4 separate regions of the Homo sapiens genome follow, and regions 2, 3 and 4 are each linked to region 1. The links are contacts of gene promoters, found by promoter capture Hi-C in human tissues and cell types (Jung and others, 2019). All regions are on one chromosome and are shown on one strand. The core of a region is centred on a gene start or on the middle of the fragment in contact, and the rest is flanking DNA. Distances in the headings are between cores, read along the strand shown. Region 1 holds the start of APCDD1 (APC down-regulated 1). Region 2 overlaps LOC105371989 (a long non-coding RNA gene). Region 3 has its middle 26 kb from the start of NAPG. Region 4 overlaps LOC105371988 (a long non-coding RNA gene).

What was found. Contacts are between HindIII fragments. The study calls those that stand out against the background at their distance.
Region 2: a fragment that was not itself captured here is called in contact with the fragment with the promoter of APCDD1 in region 1 in 2 of the 25 tissues and cell types used here (dorsolateral prefrontal cortex and lymphoblastoid cells).
Region 3: a fragment that was not itself captured here is called in contact with the fragment with the promoter of APCDD1 in region 1 in 4 of the 25 tissues and cell types used here (aorta, dorsolateral prefrontal cortex, hippocampus and 1 more).
Region 4: a fragment that was not itself captured here is called in contact with the fragment with the promoter of APCDD1 in region 1 in 2 of the 25 tissues and cell types used here (bladder and mesenchymal stem cells).

Annotation. Positions count from the first base shown.
Region 1 is chr18:10,451,900-10,459,592 of GRCh38, reverse strand. It overlaps APCDD1 (APC down-regulated 1), which reads right to left and starts at 4,958. Exons shown (of 5, transcript NM_153000.5): 1 at 4,554-4,958. The coding sequence starts at 4,611. The HindIII fragment of the contact is 8,431 bases long and covers 642-7,693 here.
Region 2 is chr18:10,396,553-10,404,245 of GRCh38, reverse strand. It overlaps LOC105371989 (a long non-coding RNA gene), which reads right to left. Exons shown (of 3, transcript XR_001753348.1): 3 at 3,101-4,176. Among named protein-coding and RNA genes, the nearest start is that of LINC01254, 14 kb to the left of the region's middle. RefSeq lists an enhancer at 1-90. The HindIII fragment of the contact is 4,022 bases long and covers 2,897-6,918 here.
Region 3 is chr18:10,496,649-10,504,341 of GRCh38, reverse strand. No RefSeq gene overlaps it. Among named protein-coding and RNA genes, the nearest start is that of NAPG, 26 kb to the left of the region's middle. The HindIII fragment of the contact is 8,195 bases long and covers 800-7,693 here.
Region 4 is chr18:10,418,051-10,425,743 of GRCh38, reverse strand. LOC105371988 (a long non-coding RNA gene) reads right to left here. Exons shown (of 3, transcript XR_935142.4): 2 at 4,065-4,247; 3 at 489-1,624. Among named protein-coding and RNA genes, the nearest start is that of LINC01254, 7.5 kb to the right of the region's middle. The HindIII fragment of the contact is 4,106 bases long and covers 2,731-6,836 here.

The DNA.
Region 1 (7,693 bases), core at 3,709-6,208:
GCTTGCTGCTTTTGCCCATCTTAAAATCTTCATATCTAAAAGTCGTCTCTCTTTATGAGCAATATAATAAGGTCAAGTTTTCAAATTCCTGGCTCCACTTGACTTTAGTTGAAAACAAGTTACTTTTCTGTGCCACTTTATAGTGCCATAGTCCTCAGGGTGGACACTGGAGCTGAACCAGAGGTTGCAAAGTTTGCATGTTGGATCTGCAGCTGACTAGCCACATCCACCCTCTTCAACACAGTTGTGGTCTGTGTGTGTGTGTGTGTGTGTGTGCACGCTTGTGGGATTCCCAGCAGGGAAAATAGTGCAATCAACTGCAGTGTGCCATCCACTCAGCTCTGGGGCTCTACAATCAGTATTTCTTCCCTTCTCTCACCTAGATATTCTTCAAGAATCCTCAAGGAAGGGAGAATGCTACCTTTCGGCCAGTGGACCTGGCAAGTGGTGGCACTTGGCACATAGTAGGCCCTCATAGATGAACTTTCTGAATAAATGGTTAGCTGAATGAATGAAACCGGAAAACCCTTGCAGAACAGAATATCCTTAATAATTTTAGGATGATACCATATCCTTTCTCCAACCTTGAGATGTACATACCTATCACATGACTTTCCACAATAATTTTATTCCCAAACTGGAGAGGACTAAGCAATGGCCTATGTACACAAAACCAACCCATTAAGAACTCATACGTCCAGGATGGTAGCGGATTTTTTCCTGGTTTTCCCTGCGATCACTTCAACTCCAGGGGAAGAGTCTACTGAAGACATGCCTTGCTGTGTATCTTTCAACCGATGTAGACAATCACTAACACATCATCTTCTATTTCTGGTCTGAAATGTTTTATGCCTCCCTTTGATTGATTATATTGTCATCAGTCTGTCCCTAAATAGTAGTATGTAATTACACAGACATATCACCCACCTATATTTAGTTCTTTTCTCATTTAAGGGGAAAAAGAATGAACTCAGCTAGTATAAAAGAATGAAATTGGCTTGTCAATCTCTTTAACAGAGGATATTTAACATCTGTCTGAGACCCTTGCCCCTGTTGGGTACAGGTGAGTCATGCTTCTTTTCAAGACTTCATTTTCTTTTTATGACTAAGAGGAGGGAAAAAAGTGCAGGAAAGAATGTTTTCTTGGTCACAAAAACTGTCCTTAGTAAAATAGTTTTTCAAAGATTTCTATTTTACCCTGTATAAACGTTTCCTCACATTATGTCGGTTAAACTCTCATTTGGTAATCTGCAAAGTTTTTAAAAGTCTTGACAGAATAAGCTTTAATGAAAGGAGAGAGCTGAAAGAGCCTTCACCTCTCAGAAAAGTCAACGAATTCTACAAAAGTAAACAGGGTGTGGGAATAGAACATCTCTCCCAACATCAGCTCCAAAACTCAAAATCAAATGTTTCCATTAGCAAAGAGAATCAGGCACTCCACTGCGGCATTACAGTCACACTTATTCTGGATACCTCATGCTAATCTGTGTTTTGGAGCTGAATGGTTTCTAGAATTTGACATCTGAAACTTTTGTGGCTTTTATCTAAGCAAAGAAAACAGTGATAATGGACATCTTCCAGCTGCATACCTTCATGACATTAAATAGGCTTTATTTGGATTAAGTACTGCAATTGTTTTCAGAATTTGAAGAGGAGGAAAGTAAAACTGACATGTATACTTTTATGCCATCAAATTTTGAACTTGGGTCTCGCACCACATTTGCAGTCTTAAATAAACAACAGGCTCAAGTCTTGCCAGAGCCTCATTTACTCACTGATAGGATTTAGGGGTGATTTATAAGTTGCAATGAATTGAAATAGAAGTAGCCACAAAACCGAACAAAGACTGGATGCCAAACATAATGGTTATCTACTGCATCCTCACACAGGATGCACTTCTTGCACTTCTTAACCTGACTTGGTGGTGTAACAAATAAATCTCTAAATGATGTGTGAAACTAAATTTATTAAAGTTTATCACAGGAACATCCAACACCATAGAACAAATGCTTTTATCTACTAAGTTGACCCATAAATAGACAAATGGTATCCTATGGTTAGCAAAATAAAATGCCTATTTATCAGGAAAAAAAATCACTAATTCCTTAGAAGATTTCAAGAATTGCCTTCAGATTTATAACTTCTATTTAAATATATGATCACACTCCATCTGTTACTACAGAATTCTTAAATGCCTGCAAAGCGCCTATCAGTTGAGTACGACATATTCAGCAAACCATTCCCTTGGTTAGGTTGAGTAATACCCATTTGCTGTTAAAAGTACTTCAATCAAGTAGATGTCATGGGGGAAAGGGGAAAGGAAGAATATCCCATTCTTTTCTGGTGCTTTACATTATCCTTGCTAATTATGGCAAACCTTTCTTAAATCCTGAGGATTTATAACTTGAACAATGATTTCCTCTGTTTATTTTCTGCACTAGAGTCTGATACTCTCTGCTGGATCTAAGTAGACCTTTGAGCAACATTAGTTTTAATAATTGTGCCATTGCAGATTCTTTCTGAAATTGGATAACTTTTTATCGGTTTATCCATGTAACCCAACTCAACTTTGCAAACCTCCCTTTTTATCTTATCTTCATATATACATATGCACATATGTGTACACACAAATGCATACACACATACCAGCACGCACACGGTCTGTCTCCACTGTGCTCCCATTTATAGCTCAGACTGCCCTTCCCAGTTATTTCCTTGCTCCCCAATCCCCCTCCCAACACCATGGGGTCTGGGGAGCCCTCCTCCCTCAGATCCCCGGAGTTATGGAAGATTCCAGACTCAAATTCTCAAACTCAGGAGATTTGGAGCTCCTGTCTTCATTGAGGATATACTTGGGCTCTTGTTACCTGTCAGCCATTACTACCCCAGCTTGGACTGCTAAATAGGAAGTATAATTACAACCCCTACCTCTCAAAATAGGGAGAACATGTTCAGAGTTACCTTGTGTACAAGGTTGCATCTCTGAGGATCACTTTTGTAGTTTAAAAGGCAATGATTTTACCCCAAAAAATGCTGTTCATGCCAACTTTTTAAGTAATTTTTTAAATTTTAAAATCATTTGACCATACTATCTTTTTTCTTCACAGATATTACAACAATTTTTTTAAGGGGGACAATGTTTCCTGTTTCATCTCTCTCTTTTGTTTCTTGTGTGTGTGGCAGCTGCTGTTTGATCTGTTCATTGGCTCTGATTTGTTTCATGTTTCAGCCAAAGATTAAAACTGCTCTGTAATTCTAAGCAGATGGGCCTAGGAGTCCAACCCTATAATTATACCTTCTCTCTTTTTGCCCTCTGCAAGCCTTCCATCCCGACTGTTAAAATTCTGGGATCACTGGGGCTCTGAGTACACCTTGGCAACTGGACAGGTCTGGCCCAGCCAGACAAGTTCACAAAGCCTGTGGAGCTATGCGAGCCATCCACCTGGGGCAGGACTACAAAGAAAACAGCATCCCGGTGGCTTGTGGGTTAACAATTCTTCCCTTTCCTTGATCCTCCGGAGGGAAGGTCCTCAGCCTGACTTTCAGTCCTGGCTACCATGCATTCTGAAGCCGGAGCCCGCTACAGGTTTGGGGTGGCTGTGGTGGGTGTTGAGGAAGGAGAGCCGTGAAGTCATGCTGTTGAAACGTCAGGTGTCTGACCATTAGGGACAGTTTGCTCAGGACATCCACATCAACACGACGTGATCTGCCACGGCTTGTCAGGATTATGAACCCGACGCGCCATAAAACCTGCCTTGTCCACCCCAAAGAAATTCTGTCTTGGTGTTTTCAGCGCAATTTCTGGAACCCGCTGAAAGGGCTGATGTTCTCTAGCTAAAGGTTTACTAGAACCCCTGGGGAAAAGTGGCACTGGAAGCCCAGGAAATGGGACGTCAAGTTGGGGTGCACATTGGGAGACTGGTAATAATGATTAAATCTTGGCTAATAGGGGTCCCCTGTTTCTTAAAATTACACCCAGAGAACGCAACAGTCCACTTGGGAGAAAACCCCACAACCCCGCCTCAATCGCGAGGCAAAGTGCAGGCAGACAACAAACACTAGTTTTCAGAAGGCAGACAGACGTGTCTTTCCCAAATGATCAGTTTCTCTTTCCACTCTCCTAAACGCTTGGAACACATCAAGAGCCTGCTGCATTCTGGCATTTTGGAAAAAGGCTCGCAGAGCCGGCGATTTCATGGCAGTGTACAGTTGGAAAATCCAGCAGAGCGGACGAAAGTTTCCCTCGGACTGGATGCAACGGATTCTGGACATAAAAGGTGTCTGCGTGGGAGAGCTTCCACCCTTCCAAAAAGAACAGTCCCGCAGCAAAGAGCTCCGGGCGCCCTGGGGGAGAGCGGTCCCAAGCCTCGGAAAGTGGGCAGAGCCCCCTCTCCCAGGGCTGAGACGGCAGGCGCGGGGCTCCCCTCGGACCCGCCCCGCCAAGGGGACAGTGTAGGCCGTGCCGCGATCCAGACCCGACGCCTCCGCGGGCTCCGCGGCGCCCGGGCTGCCTCCGCCGGCTGGGAGCGCTCGAGTGGCCCTCGGGAACTCACCGTGAAGCAGGAGGGCCGGGAACAGGTATCTGAGCAGGAGGCGGCGCGGCCAGGACATTTCCAGTCCTGCTCTGGGGCCTCCCGCACGCCGCGCTCCGATTTGGTGCCCGGGCAACTGGGCGCGCGCTCTGCCCTCCGCCTCCGGCCGGGTGCGGCCGGGCCAGGCCGGGGCTTCAGGCGGCTGCCGCGCGCCCCATGCCCGGCGGGCTAGGCGCGGGGCTGCGGGGCGCGCGCTCTCTGGGCGCCGTCGGGCGGCTGTGGGCGCCCCGGCCCGGTCCGCGTCCCGGCCTCTCTGCCGCCCGCCCCGACTTCTCCGCGCCCGGCCCCGCGTCCCGCCCCGGCCGCCGCGTGCGCCGCTCTGAGCTGCAGTGGCCGCCACCGCCACCGCAGCTGCAGCGTCTCTTCATATTTCCAGCGCGCCGCCGGCCGGGCAGCCTGGCCGCGGCACGGAGGAGGGGCCCTGGAGGGGGCGGTCGGGGGAGGCGACGCCGAGCCACCGCCCCCGGGCAGCCGCCGCCGGGGGGGAGCGCGGAGACTTGAAAGGGCGCGTCGGGCAACGCCTCCCCTCCTCCCACTCCGGGCGCCCCTCCTCCCCCCGCTCCCCTCCCGCTTCCCTCCTTCCCCTCTCTCGCCTACCCCTCCTCTTCCAGCTTCCTACCCCTTCCATCCTCCCCTCCTCCTCTCCTCCCTCCAGGCCCCTCTGCCTCCCTCTGGCTCTGCGCACCCCTTTCTCTCCTCCCCGTCCCCCATTCCGGGCGCGCTTCCTCCTTGGAGGGGGTGGGAGCCTTTGGCCCCGCACCCCGCCCGCAAGGAAAGAGAATGCGCGGGTCACCCTTCCGCCTCCGCCCACTCCCCTGGGGAAAGGTGTTCAAAGGGGGTGCGGGCGGCGAGGCTGGAGGCCTGGCGTGGGATCCAAGCAAAGCGGCCTGCTGAGCCGGGGTGTGTGCCAGCGCGCAGCCATGGGAGAGAGGGGAGACCAAAGAGAGAGTCCTGGAGGGTTGCTGGGGGTGAGGATGCGTCAGTGCTGGGCCCCCTCGTGGGTGCGGTGCAGGTCTTCACTACAAATCGCCTACCCCGGCCCAGTGCCTGGCTCCTCTGGGGAGCACGGAGAACCTTGTCATAGGCCCCAACCTGGGAAGGGCACGGTGTAGGAGGCAGGAGCCCGTTCACTTTTTCCTCCCCCTTCCACTAGGCAAATGACTTGTTGAAACGGGAGAAATCTCCGAGAAACGCTCCCTGTCAGTCTAAGAACGTGCACTTAGGCCCCTTCGCCGAGTCCTCTTCTCTTCCAGAGCAAATTGAATCACCACAATCAAAGCTGATTTTATTTGTGTTCGCGGTCTTGTGGGGGAGGGGGGACTACATGGGCGTTTGAGACCCAAAGGCAGGAAGAGTTTCCCCTGGGGTCCTTCGTTCTCCAATGCGGGTACAAGGCAGTGGCCATCTGATTTACCTGGAAGGTCCCTCCTCTGCCAAGGGCCTGCTTGAGCCCTTCCCCTCTTCCAGCAGTTTTCCCCCTCCTAAGGTTAATGTCACCTCTTCTCCACACTAGGATAAAGAGCAGACAGGAGACCCAGTGGAGTCTAGAGAACATTTCTTGACGCAACCGTTAGTGTTTTTCATTTAAAAAAAAGATTAAAATAAATGCCTGATTTCCCAAGAGAATTCTCTGCCCCTTTGAACAATGCAATAATTCAACTCCTTATGTGTTAGACTTTCAAAAGTAGTTGGATCTTAGCAACGGTATAATAGTAAAATAGATGAGAATACATTTGACAGTTTCCACTTTTCTTTTTTTTTTTTTAACCTGAGAAATCCATGGGTGTTTTGATGTGATAGTGCTGACGCTGTTTGATGTGTCTTAATTTTTATCACCATCATTATCATCTTTCCATCATTAATACAGAGGATCATAAGATGTACCAGCTGCTCAGCTCACACGGATGTTGTGAAGATTAATGTGCTCCTGTTTGCAAATCTTGAAGATGAAAGAATACCTGTGTGGGCAAAAAGAAGATCATGAAAACGATGCCTATGAGCGCAGGCATTATTTTGTGTTAGTCTTGCTCTGCCACATCTTTCTGAGCCTGACTTTGTACCTGATCGTTCTCTCATCCCAGTTGCTAGGCTTGGGTAGCAGACTATGATTTGTAAGATTTGAATGTTTGCCAAGGGCCAATCAAATTTTCATTTTAAACCAAGAATTTGACTTCTTCACGAATGTTGGGCAGTTGGAAACGATGTAAACAGCATACTTGGTTGGTTATGCAGAACAAAAGCCTTGTCACCAAGAACACATATGAAGTGGTGTTTAGTTTTTCAATGTCTTTTAGTCATTTGATGCCTTTTAGTCCATCAAAGAATATTTGAAACAAGCAAATGGCTAAGAGAGTGTTAGGGGTGGTGCATTTTTGTATAAGCAAATAGGTTGACAGCAATGGAAAAATGTTTAGGTTATTCATCACATATTAGAAGAACAGTTAGGTCATGTATGTGCTTAATTTTTTGATTTTGTTATTAAAAAAAGGATAAAACCAACAGGTCAGCTGTAATTTGGTGTCATTTTGACAGTCAAGTTGCTTCAATTTTTGTTTTTCCAACTGGTTTTACTGGTGTGGTATAAACGTAGCCAGAATGAAGTCAGCAGTTTCAAATTTGTTTTGCCAGTTTATTTTCCCCATGTAGTGTCATAGATTTAAATACTCGACCCTCAACATAACATCCTGCCAGAGTTACTACTGCCTGAAAATGTCCCCGCAACGTCCAACAGTCGAGAAGATCTAGATTTGTCCGAGGATAAGTTCATTTTCTGCATTACTTTTCACTTCTGCTGTTAATGTACCTCTTTCTGGAGAAGAATAATGAAAGGAAAAGGAAGACATGTAAATTTGTCTTAGAGAGGTTATTTGTGGATATATGTTTAGAGTAATAGAACTGGGAAGCAAGCATTGCTAGGGAGGTAATAAGTGGCTGTTAAATCCAGCACAGAATCGGGACCCCTGAAATAAGCACAGGGAATTCCCCAAACCACTTACGAGAACCCAAGCCTCAAGCAGGAACATGTGGAGCCCAGGTCCTGGTGATAATGGGAGTGTCTTTGGCAGGGACAGCTGGACAGGATCCCCTTAAGAGCATCAACA
Region 2 (7,693 bases), core at 3,658-6,157, 55 kb after region 1:
AGGCTGGGCCTAGGGCTGGCGAGTTCAGAGCCTTACCATCAAAGCTGCTTTGAACGTTAGAATAAGACGATATTCTTAAAAGCCTTATCAGAAACTTTCATGGGAGTCAGTGGGTTTTAGGCAATAAGGATCTCTCTGCGTATTCCTTTTATTTACTTTACTTCTGATAAGCCAAAGGCTCTTGAGTCCCTCCAGTTTTCAAAAGGCAGGCATTCGGAGCATTTCCAGGACATGCAGGCTTATTATCATGGTGGACAGCAGCTCCCGCCTTCAGACCGTCAGCGAAGGAAACCCCCTCAGTAAATCAGCCACAGACTCAGTGCCGGCGCGGCGCAGCTATTCACACCCTGTCACGTGTCACGTGTTTCAGCTGCTCTTTCTCTGCCCACCATGTAATCTCTGAAAAAAATAGAAGCCTTTTTGTGTGCCTGGGGTGGGGGTGGGGACCAGCCTTGCAAATCCCCCTGCATGGATGCAAAGCTGGACCACTGTTGCCAGGGAGTTGTTTCAGCCTCTGAGGAAATTAAGGAGCTCATGGAAGGAGCTTATTCCCCATTTATAGTGAGTTCAAGAGGGACAATGGATCTGTGTGGCCGAGGATTACCCAGCCAGCCACAAAAGCATCAGGGCCTTTTAATCTGAAAATCAAAATTGTGCATCTAGTGACCCCACCTCAGAGGGAGACAGAATGCCAGAGTGAAGGAATTTTTTTTCTACTCTCATGATGGCAAAACTTTCTCAAGATGCAAATATCACTGTAAAGCTTCAGCCAGGCCTTTTCACAATCTATGCTACAGAATAACCTTCCCTCGGGATCCACCAAGGAATGGTGAGGGCTGCCCTCAGTGGTGCCTCAGGCCCATGGTGCAGAGGTGACAGAGGGTTGAACTGGGCTTGGAGGCAGGAAGGATGCCCTGCAGAGGGCTCCAGGTGGGGCCAGAGAGTCCTTCTCTCCAGGAACACTGGTCCCTTTGAAGACGGTGACAGGGATTAATTTTTCCCACCAGTTCACTTCTGGCCAGTTTTGTTTCTTTCAACTCAAGGGGATTGTACTCTGAGGAAGCCAACGTATCAAAGTACAAGTAGAAACAATAATAATAAATTATAGTGTTTCTCAGACGTATTCTAACACCAAGTGTCCATTCTTGCTAACTACTTTTTTGGCTAGCAGCCAGCTGTCCCTAGGTTCCTTTGTATGGGCAAGAGTGCAGTTTCCTATGTCAGGGTGGCGTTAAATCTTACCAATGGTACTTGCACAACAGAGACATTCAGAAAGTCTTGAACTTATTTGGAGACACATTTGCTTTAATGCGTATGTCCTTTAGTGAGCAGGACACGAGGATGCCCCCTCTACGTGCTTTGCTAAATGTGCTTTGCTAACCTAGAAGTCTCCGAGGCCATCTCCCTGGGGTTGGAGAACTAGCACCAACAAAGCAGAAACACACTTGTGGGCTTGATCATGTGCGTTAAGTTTATTTTTACAGGATGTAAAGTGTCTGCTGCCTGCCTTAAGAATAAATGTTTGCTAAAAAAAAGATAATAAAAATTTAAAAACACAAGTTTACCTATATAACAAACCTGCACATGTACCTCTGAACTTAAAAGAAAAGTAAAAGAATAGGTGTCTGCCAAAAAGACCAAGGCTGTGATCTAAGGGCCACCACGGAGGACCCAGAGCAACATGGCAGATGAGTCTTTGTGTGCAAACTCTACTGTAACATCCTTGGGGGAAGAGATTCTTCTTATAAAACCATGGGTGGGCTCTGAGCCCCCCTGCCCTAGTTTCACTGCAAGAACAACCCCAGGAACTATTATATAATTTGTGCACTCAAGTCATCAGCCTATGCTTCTGCTGTCATCTGGAGGACCCACTGAAAGCTGACCATTACCAGGAAGAGCACAAAGATAGGACTACCACCCTCCATTTGAACAGTGCCTGCCTCTGGCACCCCACATGGCTCTGACTGCCACATTTTGCGGGACCGCAGAGAGCACCTAGGCTGCTGCTGCCTGGTAGGGAACAGCAGGGACAGCGGCATTATTCCAGCTGACTGTCATGTCCTTTTCTACAGGAACAAAGCCCGTGTATTGTCTTCATTGAATCTGACGGCATCCTGGGGGAAAGAGCAAGATAGATACAGCTGACTCCATTTTTCATAAAAGGATATAAAAATGGTTTCAGTGACTTCCAACATGACAGAAGCTCCCCACAGTGGTGGCAGAATTATTCCAACCTTCCTCCTTCAGTTCTGTGGGTCTTTTCATTACGTTTTGAATGGAATGGATTGAGGTGTACTTGTTTCTCAAATCACAGAACACTACCATTAAGTAATATCATTGTGTCCCAAGAAATAAGTCATTTTTGTCAAAATAAAAGGAAAAACAGATGGTAATAAACTTATCTTACTTATTCCAAGAGCTGTTTCAGCCTAGAAGAAGCCGGTACCACAAAGGCAAAGCTGAGGTCTCCTTCCTTCCCCTCCCCTTCCCCTTTCTCCTCCCCGCTCCTCTCCTCTGACTCACCCCCCGCACCCCCGTGCAGATAATTAATCATGACAACTTCCCAATGAGCCAGGGGAAGGCTCAGAATTCTCAGCGCAGCAACTTAAGCAGCTAGTCCCAATGCTTGGAGTTAGCCCAGGAAATGACAAGTCCACTTTAATAGTCTAAACATTTTGACCAGGTAACACATTAACAAGGTTACAAATCAGAAAATGTAAAAAATTATGATCAAGATCTTCCTCCTACCACATTCTCCATCTACTCAGATTCCTTCATCTCCAAATTAGAACACAATTAACAAGTCACCATAATTATTGGTTTCTTGTATATCCTCTCAGAGATTTTCTTTGTGCTTGTAAAAGCAAATACAGATATCTATTTCCCCCACTTGAATATTGCCTGCACTGTCCATAGCTAGCATCACAATAAATCTTAGAGATTTCCTCATCGGTCCATACGGAAGCCTTGTTCTTTTTGTAGTTGCATTGTGTGACTGCACTATGATATATTCAATCAATCCCTACAAATGGATATGGGTCGTTTACATTCTTTTGCAGTTACAATGAGGTCTCATTAGATCATTTTGAACATATATTATTTCCCATGTGTACTGCTATATGTAGGATATATTCTTAGAAGTGGAATTTCTGGGTCAAAGGATAGGGTGTATTTATAATTTACTAGGTATTTCGAGATAGTCATCCTCAGTGGTTTTACACATTTACAAACCTTCCAATTCTACACGAAAATGCCCTTTTTCTGACAGCCTGACCATAGTTGTTTCATCCAACTTCTCTTCTTTCCGCCAAACTGCTGGATTAGAAACTGTATCTTGCTGGAATTTTTACTTAGCATTTTTCTTATTATGAGTGAGACTGTGCACTTCCTCTTATGTTGAAGATGCACTTTTATTTCCTTGTTTCTGTCATCTCCACTTTTGAACTCATAAGTAGATGACAGATAATGTGCTGCTAAGGAGAAGTGGGCTGTTCTGAGGCCACACCCTAGCCCTGTCCGAGTTTGATGTGAGAAGGACGTGCATCACTGTGCCAGCACCAGCACTTAGTACACAGCTGTGGACCCTGAGGGAGCATGAGTTTCAGCCACAGAAGACAGAAACGACCTTCTCGGCCGAAGGAGCAGCTCAGCACAGATGCAGAGCTCTGCATGGCTTATTTGGAAATGGAACATGTCTGTATGACAGGACCCCAGGTCCTGTGACTGGAACATGGCACTAGGCAGTTAGGATGGAGTCAGCTAATAGAGGGTCTTGAGTGCTGCGGTACAGAGTTTGGGCTTTGCTCTGCAGGTTGTGGATGACGATGCGAGTTACCGAGTAGAAAATTAATACCTCAATTGCCCCAACTGCTAGTGCTGTGTGCACTGCTGTGTGCCCTGGACATAACATTTAAATTCATATTCACAAGCAGTACATATTAAAGAGTCAGTCACTAAAAATAACATTAGTTGCTAGGGATCCTGGAGAGACAGACACTAATAGTTGATGGTATTGTGGTCCAAAGTCTGGTGTCTGAGTCGTCCCGCCAGGCGCCAGCTTCGGTCCTAGGTCACAGATCCTGCTTCACTCCCCAACATAAGCTGAAAGATGCTGCTTGCTAGAATTGAGACTGGAGAGAAGGGAGATAGGATCTGCCGTCATCCCCAAGCCGGGTCCTGTTAGAGGGCAGAGAGGGTGACTCTAGGGCCCACTTCTTCCCAAAATGGATTCACAAGATTAGTAGAAAAAGGAAAGAAGAGAAAATGAGAGAGAAATTAGGCAAACTGAAGCCTAGAAAAATGACGGGTTTTCAAATCTCAAGATTTTCATTTCCTGGTCATTCTTCCTTGAGGTAGTAAGGTCCAAAATTCATCAATATTTCCTATTTTCATAGATATTTACAGCATGTCACCAAGAAAAGAAATGGGTGTCTCTTAATAGACAGTCATGCCTCACGTAACCATGGGGATACGTTTTGAGAAATGCATTATTAGGTGATTTTTGTCATTGTGCAAACATCACAGCATGTACTTACATAAACCTAGATGGTAGAGCCGACACACCCAGGCTATATTATACGGCCTATTGCTCCTAGGCTACAAACCTGTGCAGCATGTGACTGTATTGGATACTATAAGCAGTTCTAACACAATGGTAAGTATTTGTGTATCTAAACGTAGAACAGGTACAGTAAAAATATGGCAATATAATCTTATGGGACCACTGTCATATATGTGGTCAGTTATTGACCAAAAACATCATTATACAGGGTATGATTGTATTTTAAACCTACATATAACTTGCTTTTGAATTAAATAATTTTAAAAATATTTCTATGTTACATGATTCTTGAATAGCCCAAGTCGATAAAAGTATTCTGATTTCATTCTATGAACAGGAAGCGGGGGAGGATAGGCAGTCCTTTAATATTTTTGAACCCACGTATTTGTCTGTTGTGCCTCTGACAAAAGGGGGGAAAATCCTATGGTCTCTGTTTCAGGGGATTTCATGTAGAAGTATTTTATAAGCTTGACCTTTTTCATGTAAAATACCAGCTTTGTGACATTTAAATCTACTAGTGAAAATGAACAGGTTTCATTTACTAAGGGTCTAAGATCATAGAAGTCAATTTTATTGTTGAAGTTTATAAAAAGAAATCATAAGAAGAAATGTGCCAGCAGAGACACACAAGACCATTTGAACAACCACCCACATTTGAACAACCTGATGTGTGTGGACAGGTGTGTGTGTGTGTGTGTGTGTGTGTCCGTGTCAAGACCCACATTGCAGAGAGCTGCTGCTCAGTGACTTCTCTGTCCCAGGGTTTTCCTTTACTTAGCATTCTTTATTACCCTTTCTCGCCCTAAGGAGACAGATGGGCTCCACACTTGTGCTTTGCCAGAGATCATTACATCAATTCTCAGCAATTCTCAGAGCTCCAAGTCCTGTGCCTTTCACAGCTGATGGTGAGGACTCCCTGGGTGGATGAGTTTGTGAGAAGTTGGCCTTCAATATTAAAATAATGAATAGGCTTTAATGTGATTCTTAAGAGCCATTCAACCAGGAAATGTTGGCTTAGATGCAAGAAGCAGTTTTCAGTGAGTTCTCATTTACATATGACTTTCCAACTGCATTTTCTTAGGAACACGGAAATCCAGCGGCTTGCCCAATCATTTAATTTAAACAATTGAATGAAAAACTTTTTCCCCTTGTTAATGTTAGGTACTCTGTACCAGGCAAACAAATACCACTCTTCCTGTGCCTTATAAATTTCTTCAAGGCCATAACCTCAAGTTATCAGAAGAAAAGGAAATCAATGAAATCAGGGACAGGACTGGGCCATCGTAGTGTATTCCTTAAAGCTTAGCAATCATAGTCAATATCGTAACCTAAACATGTGTTACTTATAGAATGCAGACTGAAAACATGTCACTCCATCCTCATGTAACCCCAAAACTATTGATAATGCTCTTTTTTCAGATGCCAATACAATCTTGCTGAGTTTCTCAGAATTCCATAGTAGCCACTAGTTCCTGTTGTAGGAAACACACCACCCCTATTGTAGTGTGTGTTACACATAGTACCAAAGTTTAAGCCAGACAGGAACACTGTCCCTGCATTTTTCTTGCATACGTTTAATTCCCATTCAAGCACAGTACACTTTTGTACATGTACACTGTTTTATTAATGTCCAGAGCAATAAAAGTGCAAAGTTATGCCCATTTTCAGATGAGAATCTACTAAGGTCATCGTTCCCATGGAGCCTTGCACCTGCTTTCCCCTGGCAGTGAATGCATCGGTGCTGTCTGCTTTCATTCCAAAGATCTTTCTCCTTTATTTGATTTTTTAAAGCAAAAGCATATGCAAACACCCAGATACAATAAAATACAGAAAAAGTTAACATGTAGTCATTTTTTTGTTCTGAGTTTTATTAAAATGGAATATGTAGAAGACAAAGCTGCATCCATCTTTGACACCCAAGTGCAAACTTGCTCACCTCCTTACAGAACCAGTGTCATGAATTTGGTGAGTGTCCTTCTAGTTAATTTTTTTACGTTGTATGTTATGTATCCATAAACTATACGTAGGACCACTCTCTGTGTTTTTAGATTATATAAAAATAGTGTCATCCAGGAAAAACCACTTCATTTCTTAAAACTCAATATTATATTTTCAAAATTGATTTATTTTCATTCATATAATCAGCACATAGCTGAATTTTAAAATTTAACCTCTATTTTTTTTAACGTGAGCTAAATTATTTTATAGTTAATTTGACTACTGGATATATTTGTACTTATTTCTGCAATTGTATATCTGTTTTTCATTTATCAGGCTTTTATTTGAAACAACTTCTTACTTTTATTTATTACATTTGTATGAAGTTAAAGTTCTTGAAAGGTGTCTTCCTGAGCTTGTTTTCATTTCATCCTCGAAGCGACCATTCTAGTCCCATTTTTGTCATTATCCTGAGAACCTAACTCATGTGTGATCCTGGGCAAGTTTCCCCTTCCCCGCCTCTCTTTCCTCATCCAGTTGGCCTCGCTCTATGGCCAGGGGTTTTAATTCCACATGCCAGTCATCTTTAATAATAACACTAACCACAGCAGTAATGACACATCCATTTACTGAAAGACTGCTATATTTTAGACAGCATTCCTGAAAAATAAGAGGCTGTGGATAAACACTAATTTCTAAACCAACTGCAAAATATACCCAAAAGTCAGATTTTTTTTTTTTTTTTTTTTTTTTTGAGAAGGAGTTTCGCTCTGTCGCCCAGGCTGCAGTGCAGTGGTTCAATCGCCGCTCACTGCAAGCTCCGCCTCCAGGGTTCATTCCATTCTCCTGCCTCAGCCTCCCGAGTAGCTGGGACTGCAGGTGCCCACCACCACGCCCAACTAATTTTTGTATTTTTAGTAGAGATGGGCTTTCACCTTGTTAGCCAGGATGGTCTCAATCTCCTGACCAGGTGATCCGCCTGCCTCACCCTCCCAAAGTGCTGGGATTACAGGCGTGAGCCACTGCACCTGGCCAAAAGTCAGATATTCTTTATTGCCCTGTTAGCTGGACTAATACTTTGTTATGACCAGCATCTTGATTGAGATTTCTCATTCTTTTTTTCCAAGTTTAGATGGGAAGTGAAAAAAAAATATCCAACCATACTGAGAATCTCTGGTCTATGAGGTTGGGAAT
Region 3 (7,693 bases), core at 3,648-6,147, 45 kb before region 1:
ACACAATATATAAAGATATAATTTGTGACAATAACAACATGAGGGGGCAAATGGAGCAACATAGATTCAGGGTTTTTGCATACTATTGAAGCTAAATTGAATATTAATTCAAACTAGATTGTTACAAATTTAAAATTGTTAATTGTAAACCTCAGGATAACCACTAAGAAAACAAATACAGAAATAATAATACGAAGGAAATCCAAATAGCACACTATAAAAAAATCAATTAAACACAAAAGAGGGCAGTAATGGAAGAATTGAGGATTTTTTTAAAAAGACATATAGAAAACAAATTTTTAAATGGCAAAAGAAATTTCTTTCTTATTAATAATCACTTTTAAAGTAAATGAATCACGCTTTCTAATTAATAGCCCAAAATTCACATAATGGATAAAGAAACATGCTCCAGCTGTATGCTATCTACAAGCTACTCACTTTAGATATAAAGACACAAATAAGTTTAAAGTAAAAGGGTAGAAAAAGATATTCCAAGAAAATACTAACCAAAAGAGGGCTGCAGTGTCTATTCTATACTAATATAAGAGAAAATAGACTTTAAGTAAAAGTTGTTACAGGAGACAATGAAGAACATTATATAGTGATAAAAGGTCAATCCATAAAGAAGATATTATAATCATAAACATATAGGCACACAACAGAGCTCCTAAACATTTGATGCCAACATTGACAGAATCGAAGGGAGAAATGGACAGTTCTAGGATAATAGTTGGAGATTTCAATACCCCACTTTCAATAATGGATAGCATAACTGGACAGAAGATCAGTAAAAAGATACGCAACTTCAACAACACTATAAACCAACTAGACCTAACAGACATATATAGAACTTTCCACCCAACAACAGCAGAATATACACTCTCAAGTACAAATGAAATATTCTTCGAGATAACAATACATTAGGCCACAAACAAATCTCAATAAATTTTAAATGACCTAAATCATACAAAGTACATTCTCTGACTACAATGGAATGAAACTAGAAACCAATAACAAAGGAAAACTGGAAATTTCGCATATACATGGAAATTAAACACAAACTTGAACAACCAATGAATCAAAGAAAGAATTTCAAGAGAAAATAAGAAAATACTCTGAGACAAATGACAGCAAAAACACAACATACCAAAACTTACAGAAGGCAGCAAATCAGTGCTCATATAGAAATTTGTAGATGTTAATAGCTACATAAAAAAGAAAGAAAATCTCAAATCAATAAACTGTACACTTTCAGGAACCAGAAAAACAAACTAAATCCAAAGCTATTAGAAGGAAAGAAATAAAACAATAGAATAGGAAGAGTGAAACAACAAAAGCAAAAGTTAGTTCTTTGAAAAGATCAAGAAAATTAACAAACTGAAAAATAAAAGGAGAGTAGATTCAAATTACTAGCATTAGAATTAAAAATACAACCTTAAAGAAACAAAAAAGATTTTAAGGCAATACTATTAAAAAGTGTAGGCCAATGAATTAGATAATCTAGATAAAATGAATTAATTCTAAAAATAATAAACTATGAAATCTGACTCAATGAGACACAGACAATATCAACAGATCTAAAACAAGTAAAGAAATTGAATCAGTAATTAAAAAAACAAGACAAGAAAATCCCAGTACCAGATGACTTCATTGGTGAATTCTACCAAACATTTGAAGAGTTAAAATTAAACTTTCTCAAATTCTTCAAAAGGTAGAAGAGAAGGGAACACTTCTAAATATTTTATGAGTTCTGCATCACCCAAATACCAAAGCCAGGTGAACATGTTACAAGAAAAAGAAACTACATACAAATCCCTTACAAATACAGGTGGAAAAATCCTCAACAGAACTCTATCAAGCTGAATCCAGAAACATATTAAACAGATTACACATCATGATTAAGTGGGATTTATCCCAAAAATGCGAGGGTAGTTCAACATAACAAAGTCAATCAATACAACACACCACGTTAACTGAAGAAAGGAAAAAGAAAACAACCCATATAGTCATCTCAATTGATGCAGAAAAGGTATCAGACAAAATCCAGAGGTCTTTCATGATTTAAGAAAGAAAGCAGTCAGCAAAACAGGAATACAAGGAAACTTCCTCAAGATGGTGAAGGGCATTCATGAAAAGCCTCACAGCTAACATCATATTCAACTGAAAAACTGAATGCTTTTTCCCTATTATCAGGAACAATACAATAATTTCTACTTTGACACATATTCAACATTTTACTGAATGTTCTATTCAGAGCAATTAAGCAAGAAAAGAAATATAACACATCTACATTGTAAAGGAATAAATCAAACTATCACTATTCACAGATGACATAATCTTATATATAGACAATACTCAAGAATCCTCATAAAAATTATTAGAGCTCATGAATTCAGCAAATTGCAGGATAGAAGACACACAAAAGTCTAGTATATGTCTGTACACTAGCAATGAACAATCTGAAAGGACATTATGAAAACAATTCCATTTACAATAGCATTAAAAAGAATAAACTAGTTTGGAATAAACTTAACCAAGAAGGTGTAAGATTTGTATACTGAAAACTATAAAATATTGAAAGAAATTAAAGAAGACCTAAATAAATGGAATGTATCCTGCATTTACAAAGTGGAAGACTTAATATTGTTAAGATGACAATACTCCTCAAATTGATCTACAGATTCAATACAATGCCTTCAAAAATCCCAATAGTTTCTTTTTTTGTTGTAGAAAAAGAAAAGCCAATCGTGAAGTTCATAAGCAATTGCACAGGACCCCAAATACCCAAAACAATATTTAAGAACAAAGTTGGAGGACACATATTTCCCAATTTCAAAACTTACTACAAAGCTACAGTAATCAAAACAATGTGCTACTGGCATTAGGATATACCATAAAGGTGTAGGTTAGATCAGAAACATATGGATCATGGAATGTAATTAAGATTGCAGAAATAAACCCATACATTTATTATCACTTGATTTCAACAAGCATGCCAAGATCATTCAATGGGAAAAGAATAGTTTCTTCAATAAACAGTGCTGAGGTAACTAGATATCCACATATAAAAGGATGTTGGACCTTGATCTCACATTGTATACAAAAAATAACGTCAAAGTATCAAAGATCTAAATGTAAGGGCTAAAACTGTAACATTTTTAGAAGAAAAGATAGGGGTATATCTTCATAATCTTGGATTTGGCAGTGGTGTCTTGCCTATAATAACAAAAGTACATGCAACAAAAGAAAAAACAGAAAAATTGGGCTTCAAAATTAAAAAGTTTTGTGCATTAAACTGCACAATCAAGAAAGCGGGGCATGGTGGCAAGTCCCTGTGGTCTCAGCTACTTGGGAGGCTGAGGCAGGAGGCTGAGGTGGGAGGATTACTTGAGCCCAGGAGTCTCAGACTGGCCTGGGTAACACAGTAAGACTCCGTCTCCACAAAAAATTTTAAAAATTAGCTGAGCTTGGTGGCAACATACCTGTAGTCCCAGCTATGAGGAGACTGAGGCGGGAGGATCACTTGAGCCTGGGAGGTGCAGGCTGCAGTGAGCCATGATCACACCACTGCACTCCAGCCTGGGTGACAGAGTGAGACCCCAACTCTTAAAAAAAAAAGAAAGGGGAAAAGACAGCTCACAGAATAAGAAAAAATACTTGCACATCATATATCTGTTAAAGATCTAGGATACAAAATATATAGAGAACACTTACAACTCAACAACTAAAAAACAAACAACAATCCAACTCAAAAATAGGCAAAGAACTTGAATAGATATTTCTCCAAAGAAGATATACAAATTGCTAATAAGCACATAAAATGATGGTCAATATCACTAGTCATTAGGAAAGTGCAAATTAAAGACACGATGAGATACTATTTCACAACCACTAGGATGGCTATAATAATAATAATAAAAAAAAACTGAGACTAACAAATGTTGATAAGGATGCAGAGAAGCCAAAACCCTCATACGCTGCTGGTGAGAATGTCAAATGGTAAAGCTGTGGAAAACAGTTTGGTAGTTTCTCAGTTAGTTAAACATGCAACAACCCTATGACCTAGCAACTCCACTCCTAAGTATACACCCTGAAGAACTGAAAACAAGAGTCAAACAAAAACTGGTATATGAATGTTCATAGCAGCACTATTTGCAATAGCCAAAAGATGAAAACAACCTAGATGCTCATCAACTGATGAAGAGCTAAACGAAATGTGGTCATCCATACACTGGAATACTATTCAGCCATAAAAAGGAGTAAAAAGTCCTGATACATCTATAACATGGATGAACCTAGAAACATTATGCCAAGTGAAGAAGCCAGAGAGAAAAAGCAATGTAATGTCCGATTCCATTAAAATAAAATATCTGGAATAGGCAAATCATAGAGACCGAAAGCAGATTAGTGGTTGCCCAGGGCTGGAAAGTGGCAATGGGAGTGACTGCTTAAAGGGTACAGCATTCCTTTTGGAGTGATGACAACGTTCTGGAGCTAAATAGTGGCAAAGGTTGCATAAAGTTATAAATGTACACTGATTCTATACTTTAATATGGTTAAAATGCTGAATTTCATATGATTTTAACACAGTAAAAAGTTATTACTCAAATGGTTATTTATAAACATTGTCTTTGTCTACATCAACTATACGTTAAATTTTTCCGAAAGTGATTAACTTTCAGAAAAACAAATAACTCATTGCCTTAAATGATTATTATTTCTGTTACCTTATCATCACTATTCAATTGCAGCCTCTTGGGAGAGGAGTCAGTACTTATAAATCTCCATAGTTCTCACAGTGCCTCTTTCAATGTCACGTATGTAATAGTTCCTAAAGTAAAATGACTCGTGGTGAAGAGGAAGGCGTCAAAACCACAAGATGCACCATGAGAAGTTGCATAACGTCACCCTCTCAGAACTCCTACTTCTTAGGCATCTACCCTGTACCACGCACACTCACTTCTAATCTCTATATCAACTCTGTGGGTAGGTCCACCAGCATGCCACAGGGATAATAGTTGGTCTGCTAAGACAAAGAGTGAGTTGAATTGAGAATACCATAAACAAACAGTTTCAATATACGTTGAATATTTTATTTTAGTCAAAAACATGTAAACATACATTTATGCATCAGTCTTTTCATAACAGACCAGGAACATATCTTGGCCCATAGTTGCACCAACTTCCTGCATACATCTCACTTGTAATGCATGCAGGTAGCTTGTAATACTAATAACTTAGAGACATGTGTGAAATCATTAGAATTCAGATTCCTTCTATATTTTTACATCCCTCCACCTCAGTCAGTAACTAACAGTTGTCTTATTTATACCTTACTCAACAGCAATATTTTAAGTCACTTTGCATATCGTCTTTCCATCACATTCACCTTGGGTTTCACGGAGACAACAACTTTCTTTACAAAATAAATAAATCATTATTTTATTTATTTATTTTTTGTTTTCATCAAAAAATTAACTTTTAAAATTATTGTACAATTATAACAAAAAGAACAGCAAGCATACAGAAGCTTGGGAATTAAAACTTACTATGAAGGGGCATACAACTTAGCTTGTGGCAGTAGGAGTACCTGGGCGTGCTAGAGTCAAGTCCTGCCTCTCCATCTTTCTTTTGCACAGGAATCCCCTAGAGAGCTTAATGAAATGCAGATTCTGGTTCAGCAGGTCTGGAATGAACCTGAATTTGTGCAATTTTAACTAACTCCCAGTTGCTGCAATGCTGCTGGTCCAGGGTCTGCAGTGTGGGGAACAAGTCGCTGTATCAGGCCATGCACAGCAGCCAGCATACTTTTCTGCAGCAATGGGAGTGCCATTAACCCAGAAAGTTGGTCAATGCAAGTCCAGCTTCTCCTCTACTGGGTTAAGAATCCCAGTATATAAGTGAGGAAGCTAAGCACAGAGAAGCTGAATGACTTACAAAATGGGCAAGTGCACAGTATATGAGCAGGAATTCAAACACGGGCCTGTTTGGCTCCAAAGCCCATACTCTTTCCACTTCACATCTAAGAAAGCCAAAAGCAGAGCACCGAAGAGCCCAGGCATCCACAGAGGGACCTGGAGGAAGTGGATGGCAACCCTGCCCAACCCACTCAGAGAAAACAGCAAAGGGAGAAAGCAGGCCCCAGGGCAATAGCTTTGACTTGCTGGCCGTCTTTAATCATTATAAGAAAAAGACTTCATATTATCTTCTTCTGTTTATGTATTGTCACAAGAACTTTGGGCTTGCAGAATTCGTATTGCTTTTTAATTATTTTTATCACCACAATTTCCTCTGACATCCTGGTGTTTGTCAAGTGATTTGAAACTGAAGTTAACTTATTGGTGCTCTGTTATTTGGGAAAATGATCAGAAACAAAGCACAAGTGTTAAACTGGGCACAGTATGGTGATATTAGTGCCTCCATCATTCCCCAGGAGAAAGGTTGTTCGAGAAATAGAAAGTATTGCTATTTTTTTAAACTAGGCTGATCCTATGAATTCATATTCAGTGCTTCATTATACTGAAAACTGCACATGACTTCTTTGGATCTTTGGCTCAATAATCACTTTGATGTTTTATTTATTGATGCAAAAAGTACTTTCCTTTCAAGTTTGTTATCTCTCATTTCAATGGAATTTTTCAAAGTATTAAGAAACTAGCTCCACAGTACTGTCTATCCAGTTTTAAATTGGCACAAGATTCTAGTGTTACTAGTGCCCCTGGGTGTTTCCTGCCATTTAGTTTCAAGCTAATAAGGAAATGCAGAGGTTGGCTAGAATTTGCTATGAATACTGCAGATAGACATTTGTGCTGGAACACACTCAAAGAAGGTTGAGAGAATGCATTTTATCATACCAGGCACTTTGTTTTTTTGCCCATTGAAATGATTTGTATTTGGAAATCAGAGCTATTTTTTGTCTTTGGCCAAATCTTTCATGAAGTCTGAACTTCCATGTTTGTGAAATCCATCTGTGACATCATTGAGTGGTTTTCACAGTGAAAAAGTAATTGTCAAGGAAGACAATATAAAATGTAATATATTTTTGGGAAAAATGTTTATTCCAGTCTCTCACCCATTCTTTCAAATAAAGTTACTTGGGTTTTGTTTGTTTGTTCTGTTGTTGCTATTAAGTGTAGGAATTCTTCATATATCTTATTTATGAATCCCTTATCTGATGAATGGTTTGCAGATATTTTCCCATTCTGTAGGTTGCTTCTTCACTGTGCTCATTGTTTCCTTCACTGTGCAGAAGCTTTTTAGTTTGATGTGGTCCCATTTGTTTATTTTTGCTTTTGTTGCCTATGCTTTTAGTGTCATGTCCATGAAATCATAGTCAAGACCAGTGTCATGAAGTTTTCACCAATGTTTTCTTCTATGAGTTTTACAGTTTCAGGTTGTATGTTCAAGTCTAATTTACATTGAGTTCATTTTTGTATATTGTGTGAGATAAAAGTCCCAATTTATTCTTTTGTATGTTGATATCCAGTTTTCCCAAAACTATGTATTGGTGAAACTATCTTTTCCCTATGTGTACTCTTGGTAGCTCTGTAGAAAAGTGGTTGACTATATATATATGTGGTCTATTTCTGGTCTCTCTATTCGGTTCCATTGGTCTATATGTCTATGTCTTCATGTCAGTACTGTAGTGTTTTGATTACTGCAGCTTTGTAATATATTTTGAAATCAGAAAAAA
Region 4 (7,693 bases), core at 3,534-6,033, 34 kb after region 1:
CATCAGCTCCCCGCTGTAGTCATAGTAAAGGGAAATGTTCAGAGATAGATGACTGCGGACTACAGTGGTCGTCATGAGCAAAGATGCCCCAAATGGTGTCTGCCAGCAGGTTTGAAGCAATGAATATTTGGGGTCTCAATGCACAGGGGCCAGTGGGGGCTGCAGGCATGGGGCCAGCAGGTACCAGGAAGGTTTTCTGTTGCAGTTTCCTCACCTGGAAAATCCAATTGCCTGCATTGCCATGTTCCTAATTGGGGAAGAAATTGTGTCTAATAAGAGATATTCAATCCTTTAGTTTTGAGAAACTAAGGACTTCCCAGGGTTTGAGAGAAGGGGGAGATGGCATCATCAGGAATGCTTGCACTGCAAGGGAGCATGTGGCTGTGGCTCTTATTTATTTATTTATTTATTTTACCACACATGTTTATAAATGTAGATTTTTAGACAGAACAACCATTTCAGCATTTTAAGCCAGTGCTTGCTAGGTCTCTGCTTAGAAAGAATACTTTGCCCTCAAACCCATTTTCAACCCCAATTCCAAAAACAACAGAGATGAGAGAAATTTTGGATTTAATGATTCTTAAGTGCCTGAACTTGACATTGCAACATGCTTGAGAACATCGTAGCTCAGTGTCAGGAATTCTGCAAGAGGTCACAACTAAGGAAGGAAAAAATCAAAAGCAGCAGCATGAAGTGAGCTGAATATGAAAATCCTGCCAATCTATATTTGTCCAAAGACATAAAACTGAAACAAATCAGTAAATTTGCTTGGTAATGAAATGCATGCTGCTTCTAAAGCTTGCTGTCTTCTCTGGGACATTTATGAATTCTGAACTTGTATGTTCATTTGTGGGTTTACCACTCAAAAGCATGTCGCTTCTGGCCCGTGTGGCTCTTCCTGTGGTTCCACATGCATTTCCTAATCTGGCCATCCATGGAGATCAGAGAGAGGGCTTGAGTTTTCCTGCCTCCCTCCCTCCCTCCGGCACCCTCCGCCCCACTGCGTCATCTCTGAGCCTCTGCACTGAGAATGTTTTATCTAAAACTGAGCTTCAATTTGAAGTCTGCCTAAAATCTGACCTTCACATTCACCTCCTTCTGGAAGCAAAAGACGTAAATTCAGCATTTTTATTTCACTGCATATGGTAACTTTCTTATGCACTGCTTTTTAGAAGAGCAAAAATAAAACATTAGGGGCATGACTAGTGTCACCAACTTCTTCTCTCTCTCTCCTCCAGGAAATATTTATTAGAGATTGACTGTATGTTGGGCACTGAGCTGGCACAATAGGCATAATTTGAAGGAGGACACCAAGGAGGATTTAAAACAATATCAGGTGACCATCCTCCTCACCAGGGCAGGTTTTAGGGTTTGCGGGGCTGTGGGCAACTAATTTTTGTAAGGCTCCTGTCTACACAATTTGATTGTAAAATATGTTACAAAATTCATGGGTCCACGTGGGGTATAGTGATTTATCAATGGGGATTTGCGATAGTGGGTGGAGAAGAGGAACCGCTGTATTTTTCTATCATCCAGCCAGTGCACGTGATGTTTGTGGTGTCCAGGCATCATCTCTTCTTTTTCTTTATTGTCAAAGGCAGCATTCCTGGTCAAGGTCATATCTCTAGGAAGAAAAGGTAGCAAAGCTGTCATCACTCACTGCCATGGGTCTCAGGGACCTGTTTGTACTGAAACAATGTAGACCTGGGACCGTTCATGCACCACTGGTCACATCACCTGTGAGGCTGCAGTGTCACGACCAGGCATGGCTTCTGCTGACTCTCAAAGTGGTTTATGTGCTTTGCTGACATGGACCACCAATGCCAGGATTACCCAGATGATTCAGGAAAATGCAAATGAAGATTTATTTTCTGGTCATGTGGTATTTTGAGTTATGTAGCATGAATGTGGAATAACCCATCATCCACGGCGTCATCCCTTGACTTCTTTTTTTTTTTTTGAGATGGAGTCTCCCTCTGTCGCCCAGGCTGGAGTGCAATGGCGCGATCTCGGCTCACTGCAACCTCCACCTCCTGGGTTCAAGTGATTTTCCTGCCTCGGCCTCCTGAGTAGCTGGGATTACAGGTGTGCGCCACCATGCCCAGCTAATTTTTATTTTTAGTAGAGACAGTGTTTCACCATGTTGGTCAGGCTGGTCTCGAACTCCTAACCTCGTGATCCACCCACCTCAGCCTCCCAAAGTGCTTACAGGCATTGGGCCCTGGGATTACAGGCATGAGCCACTGCACCCAGCCATCCCTTAACTTCTTTAGGCTGACATCATGGCATGCCTATAATGAATGGGGTCTCTTTCCCCATGGACAACATCTGCCTTCCACGCCGCACCAGCAGGAGGCCAGGTGAGAGGGCTGCAGCAGAACAAGGACAGGGAGCCCATCCATACAAGATGGGCTGTCCTTGCTAGTGATGGCTTCAGAATGACCCAACAGAGCAGTGTGGCCACATTGATGGGAAGTTTCATCAGGAGAAATGGATTTGACCACCTCCAAAACATAGCAAGACACATGTGCAGAGTCTGTGGAGGGCGGCTGGTCAGTGGGTGCTGTGCACCATGAGGGACACATGTTGGCACCTACAGCACCATCCGGTGCTATGAGCTAGAGGGCGTCACAGCCAGAACACAGAGGGGAGGAGCCCATGTGTGGAATTGCACACAGGCTGAGACTCAAGGACCATGGTCACCTTAACCAGGCTGTCAGCACCACTCTGATGGCCAGATCCCAAACGATCTCCGGTGGCAGTGAGTGGGAGTGACGGCCATGCTGGGCTGCCCCCTGGAGCCAGAGCCCACCCACGACCCACATGACTCCACAGGCACAGGTCCCTCAGCTGCTCTGGGCACCTGCAAGGAGTGGGTCAGTGCATGGGGCCAAAGCACAGGCCCCTTCAAGTGGGGAGCCCTGCAGGGGACCCTTGCTGGGCCAAAGGGCCTTGCTGCCCCTCACTTCCCAATATGTCAGGAGAAAAGATTGGGTGAGGCCCCGGGGTCATTAGAGGGATGTGTTGAGGGAAGCTGGCCAGGGACTGTGAGACGGAAGCCCAGCACCTAGACACTGAGGGCTGCCTGCACTGGGAGCCTCAAGCCACATGGGAAGCCAGACTGCAGGCTCTGGAAGCTGGTGGGACCAAACTCTCAAGATGCTCCCTAACCTGCACATACACTTGACGGCAGAGAAGGGGTGTTGTTAATTCCCCATGTTTCGGTGTAAGGATGAGAACGAAATGTAACTACCTTTATGCTTATCATTCTGAGGAAGACACAATATGTGGATTAATTCAAGGAACAGTTTTTAAAAGCAAAGTAACTTTTAGGTAATAAAATTGACTTGTTTTGAAAGATTCTTTTCCAAAACCATAAGGAAAATAAGCCAACAATAGGAGGTTACAAAGGTTGGTATTCAGGCAACCTAATTCAATTGCTAGATCTTGCCTCTGTGGATGAAGGAAAGGCTGTGAGTGTAGACCAGAAAGCCTGGGCCAAGTCCTGAATCACTCACTGGGTGATCTTGAAAAAAGTCACCTACATTGTTTGATTTCGGTTTCCCCACCTTAAAATAAGAATAATATTAACACATCTCACAATGAGCTGTTTTTAAGATCCAATGAGATAATGTACAAAAAGTGCAGTGTAAAATGCCAAATGCCAGATGGATATTAGTTCATTCTTACTTAACCACAAAGAAGGTTTCCTCCTTGGCTCTCAGATGCCTCAGCGCAGCTGCAGAGTTCTTGGGCATTCTGCCACTGCCTTCTTTCTGGCCACATCCCCCCAACCACTCACGATGGGGTCCCTGAGGATGTCCACGTGCAAATCCCTGACACTCGTGATGAGGTTAGGCTACATGACAGAAGGGAACTAAGGTTGCAGATGGAATTAAAGTTGCTAGTCCACTGACTTTAATTAGGGGGACGATCCAGGATTTTCAGATGGGCCCAAGGTAATGACAAGAGTGGAGGAAGGGGACAGAAAAGTCAGACAGAGAAGGGGGGATGTGACAGCAGGAACAAGGGCAGAGTGAGCCACGTGAAAGGACTCCATTCACCATCTGTCGCTGGCTTTGAAGATGGAGGAAGGAGCCACCAGCCAAGGAATGTGGCAGCCTCTCGAAGTGGGAAAAGAGCAAGGATACCGATTCTCTCCCAGAGCCTCCAGGAAAGGACACAGCCTGTTGACACCTTGATTGTAGCTCAGTGAGACCCATTTTTTGGACTTCTGATCTCCAGACCTGTAAGATAATAAATTTGTATTGTTTTAAATCACGAAATTGGTGGTGGCCATTCTGATAGCCTGGGAATTGGTGGTAATCTGTGAGAGCTGCAATAGACAACAAATAGTGCAATATCTGCTATCAAACTAGCTATAGCAAACAGATGGCTTATTACAGTGGCAATAGGTGAGAAATACAGCACCTCATTTCCCAAGCACCCTGCAGGCTTTCCCAATCCTGTGGGATTGGGACTGAAACTAACTCTGCAAAGATTATGACAGTTAGATAAATCCAACATAGTTGACTCCATCTGTGACAGTAAGATAAATTCGATGTAGTTGACTCCATCATGCTTCTAACCTCCAAGCTATTGTTAGTCACTCCTGGGTGTAGGCCAAGCTAACTTTGGGAGGAATTTAGTTTAGAGTTTAAGCTTCAAGAAATGATGATAATACCCCTTCTCAACACCAAACTGCCTTTGTAAAACTAACGAAAGGCCACAAGCTTAGGATTATGACAGGGACCTAAATTCTGCTAAGAGGTAGGCGTAAACAATAACCAGCTATTGTTGAGGAGGTCACAAGGTTTGTGACTTCTCCAATTACTCCTGTAGATAACATCACTATCGTAGATACTATGATTGGCCTTTTGAGATGTTTTTTGAGACTTTTGCATTTCTGATGATTGGCTGACTCCACCTGGACCAACAACTCATGACTCAACTGTTCCTGTGGCTCCTACCAGAGATTGACTCAGCCCACAAGGACTGTTTTCCACACCCCTATGATTTCATCCCCAACCAATCAACATTCCCCATTCCCTGCCTTGCCAAACTTTCCTTGAAAAACCCTAACCTCCAAGCCTTCAGAGAGACTGGATTTGAGTGAAAACTAGGCCTTCCACATGCCTAGCCTGGCAGCAATTAACTTTCTTCACTGCAATACCGTAGTCTCAGTGAACTGGTTTTGTCTGTGCAGCAGGCAAGAAGAACCCATTAGGCAATTATGCAGCTCTCGACTTCTAACCCTTTTTAGACCATGAGAATCCTACTTACCCTTTAATCCCTGGTCGGATGTCTCCTCCTTCACAAAGCCCTCCCCAGCTTCCCTTTGGCTAGGTACAATGACACCTTCCTATAACTTTCTGCAGTGCTTGGCTCATTTCAGTATATTTCTGTTTCAGATTACAGTTTAATATTTGCAAGTGTGTCTTCTCTGACAGACCGTAAGCTGTATAAGTTAAGGGATGGCCTTTTAGTTATTTCTGTACCCCTCACAGTGCCTAATTCAGAGCTTTGAACTGAGAAACAAAACTGAAATCCTAAGCCCTCCAACAAACTGAATAGACCCCCACTTGGCCAAGAGGACCCCAGAGAACCCCTAAAAACTGAGTTCTGGCCATGATAGGATGGGAACTCAGACATGTTTCACTATCCCCCCTCGTTTGCTGGCCCCATTAGCTTTTCTTCACTGGGGGCTGAACAGAAACCAGCCCTTTGGAAAGACTACTCCACACCTGATATCAACCAACTGCATGACAGTGCCCATCCCTTTTGCAGTTTCAAAACAACTGACCAGCATTCCTTCCTGATAAGACTACCACTGACCACAGTGTGGTTTTGGCCAGTCTACAGAGGATCCACAGAGAGGGTTTTTTTTTTTCTTTTCCTTTGCTTCACCTTTTGACATCAGAGGGCTAAAGTCTCCACCCTCATGTCATGCTAATGCCACTGTTTTTGGACCTGGGTCCCCATGGAAAGGCATGAAGCTCAGTTGTGCGTGTGCATGTTTCTCCTCCCATAAATATCCACAACTCCTCCTAGAGATTGTTAAATATGTATACTTGGCCACACCATTCCGTATACATTCTTGCACCCTTTGCCCCTCCCTCTGAGTATCTGTTTCTGGCTTCTGGCTAGAGGCTACGATTCCCAGCCTATCAGACTGGCCACCAGCACACTGCCCTTTATGAGAAATGAAGTTCTCCTTTCCAGATGTATGAGCCTAATCATTCTTCAGTTGACAAAATCTTGCAACCTCTGTGTGCCGAAGTAACATAAAGTAAATTAAAAGGATATTTTTCACAACAAGCTACTATCTTAATCAAGGTCCTCCAGAGAAACAGAGCCAATGGTGTCTATAAAATGAGGAATTGGCTCCTATGACTATGGAGGCTGAGAAGTCCCATAATCTGTTGTATATAAGCAGGAGGCCGAGGAAACCCAGTGGTAATTCAACAGGAGCCAAAGGCTGGAGACCCAGGAGAGCTGATGGTGTAAATAACAGTTGAGGGCTGGAAAGATGAGACATTTCAGCTCCAGAAGTGAGGCAAGAAGGAAAAGGGACAGGTTCTTCCTTCCTCTGCCTTCAGGCTGTCAAGGGATTGAATGAGGCCCACACACATTGGGGAGGGCCATCTGCTTCAGATGCTAATCCCCTGGAAACACCCTTACAGAAGTCACAGTTAATCTGGGTACCCCACACTGCAGTCCAGGTGACACAAAACACAGTTACCCAGAGGGGCCTCAGCAAGGCAGACAGGCTTGTGACCCAGGAAGAGGTTAGGAGGCTTCTCTTCTCCAGCCCTGATCCTGCCTTCTTTGCCATCAAGGACCTTTCTGGGGCACCCAGGGTCTCTTTTTGCCACATCATTTACTGTCTTTCAGCCTTCTTTTCCCAACCTCCCAGACTGCTTCCTCACTATCATTTTTTTCCAGAATATATTGTTCATGGCCATTATTATTATCTTAGAGTGAAATTAAATCATATGTTACCTCTCTCATTGTGTTTACATTTCAGACTTTATGTGTACTTCTGGAATGAAAAGCTCTTCACTCGTTAAAAGCATTTAGGACTTTCATTGCACATTACAAAAAAGCACTGGGTTGGGACTTAGAAAACCTACAAAAGGTGGACACTATGTAGAACACTTTTAGGATTTCTTCCATCCTGAGATTCTGCAATTTTTTTTTTTTTTTTTTGAGACAGAGTCTCGCTCTGTCTTCCAGGCTGGAATGCAGTGGCCCGATCTTGGCTCACTGCAAGCTCTGCCTCCCAGGTTCACGCCATTCTCCTGCCTCAGCCTCCCGAGTAGCTGGGACTACAGGCACCCGCCACCACGCCCAGTTAATTTTTTATGTTTTTAGTAGAGACGGGGTTTCACCGTGTTAGCCAGGATGGTCTCGATTTCCCGACCTCGTGATCCGCCTGCCTCGGCCTCCCAAAGTGCTAGGATTACAGGCGTGAGCCACCACACCTGGCCAAGATTCTGCAAATTTTAAAACCTGTGGAAAAAGAGTTTGAAAGAATAAGTCAGGGTAAATTTGCCAGGGATAATAGAGCTGCAGTTTTTCCATAAACTCTGTTTTCCCTGTAACTGTGTAAAAAAAAAGGTAATCTTACAGGGACATGTGATATGGTCCTGTAGTCAGTGCCAGGCACAGGAGCAACCTCTGTCAAGTAGTG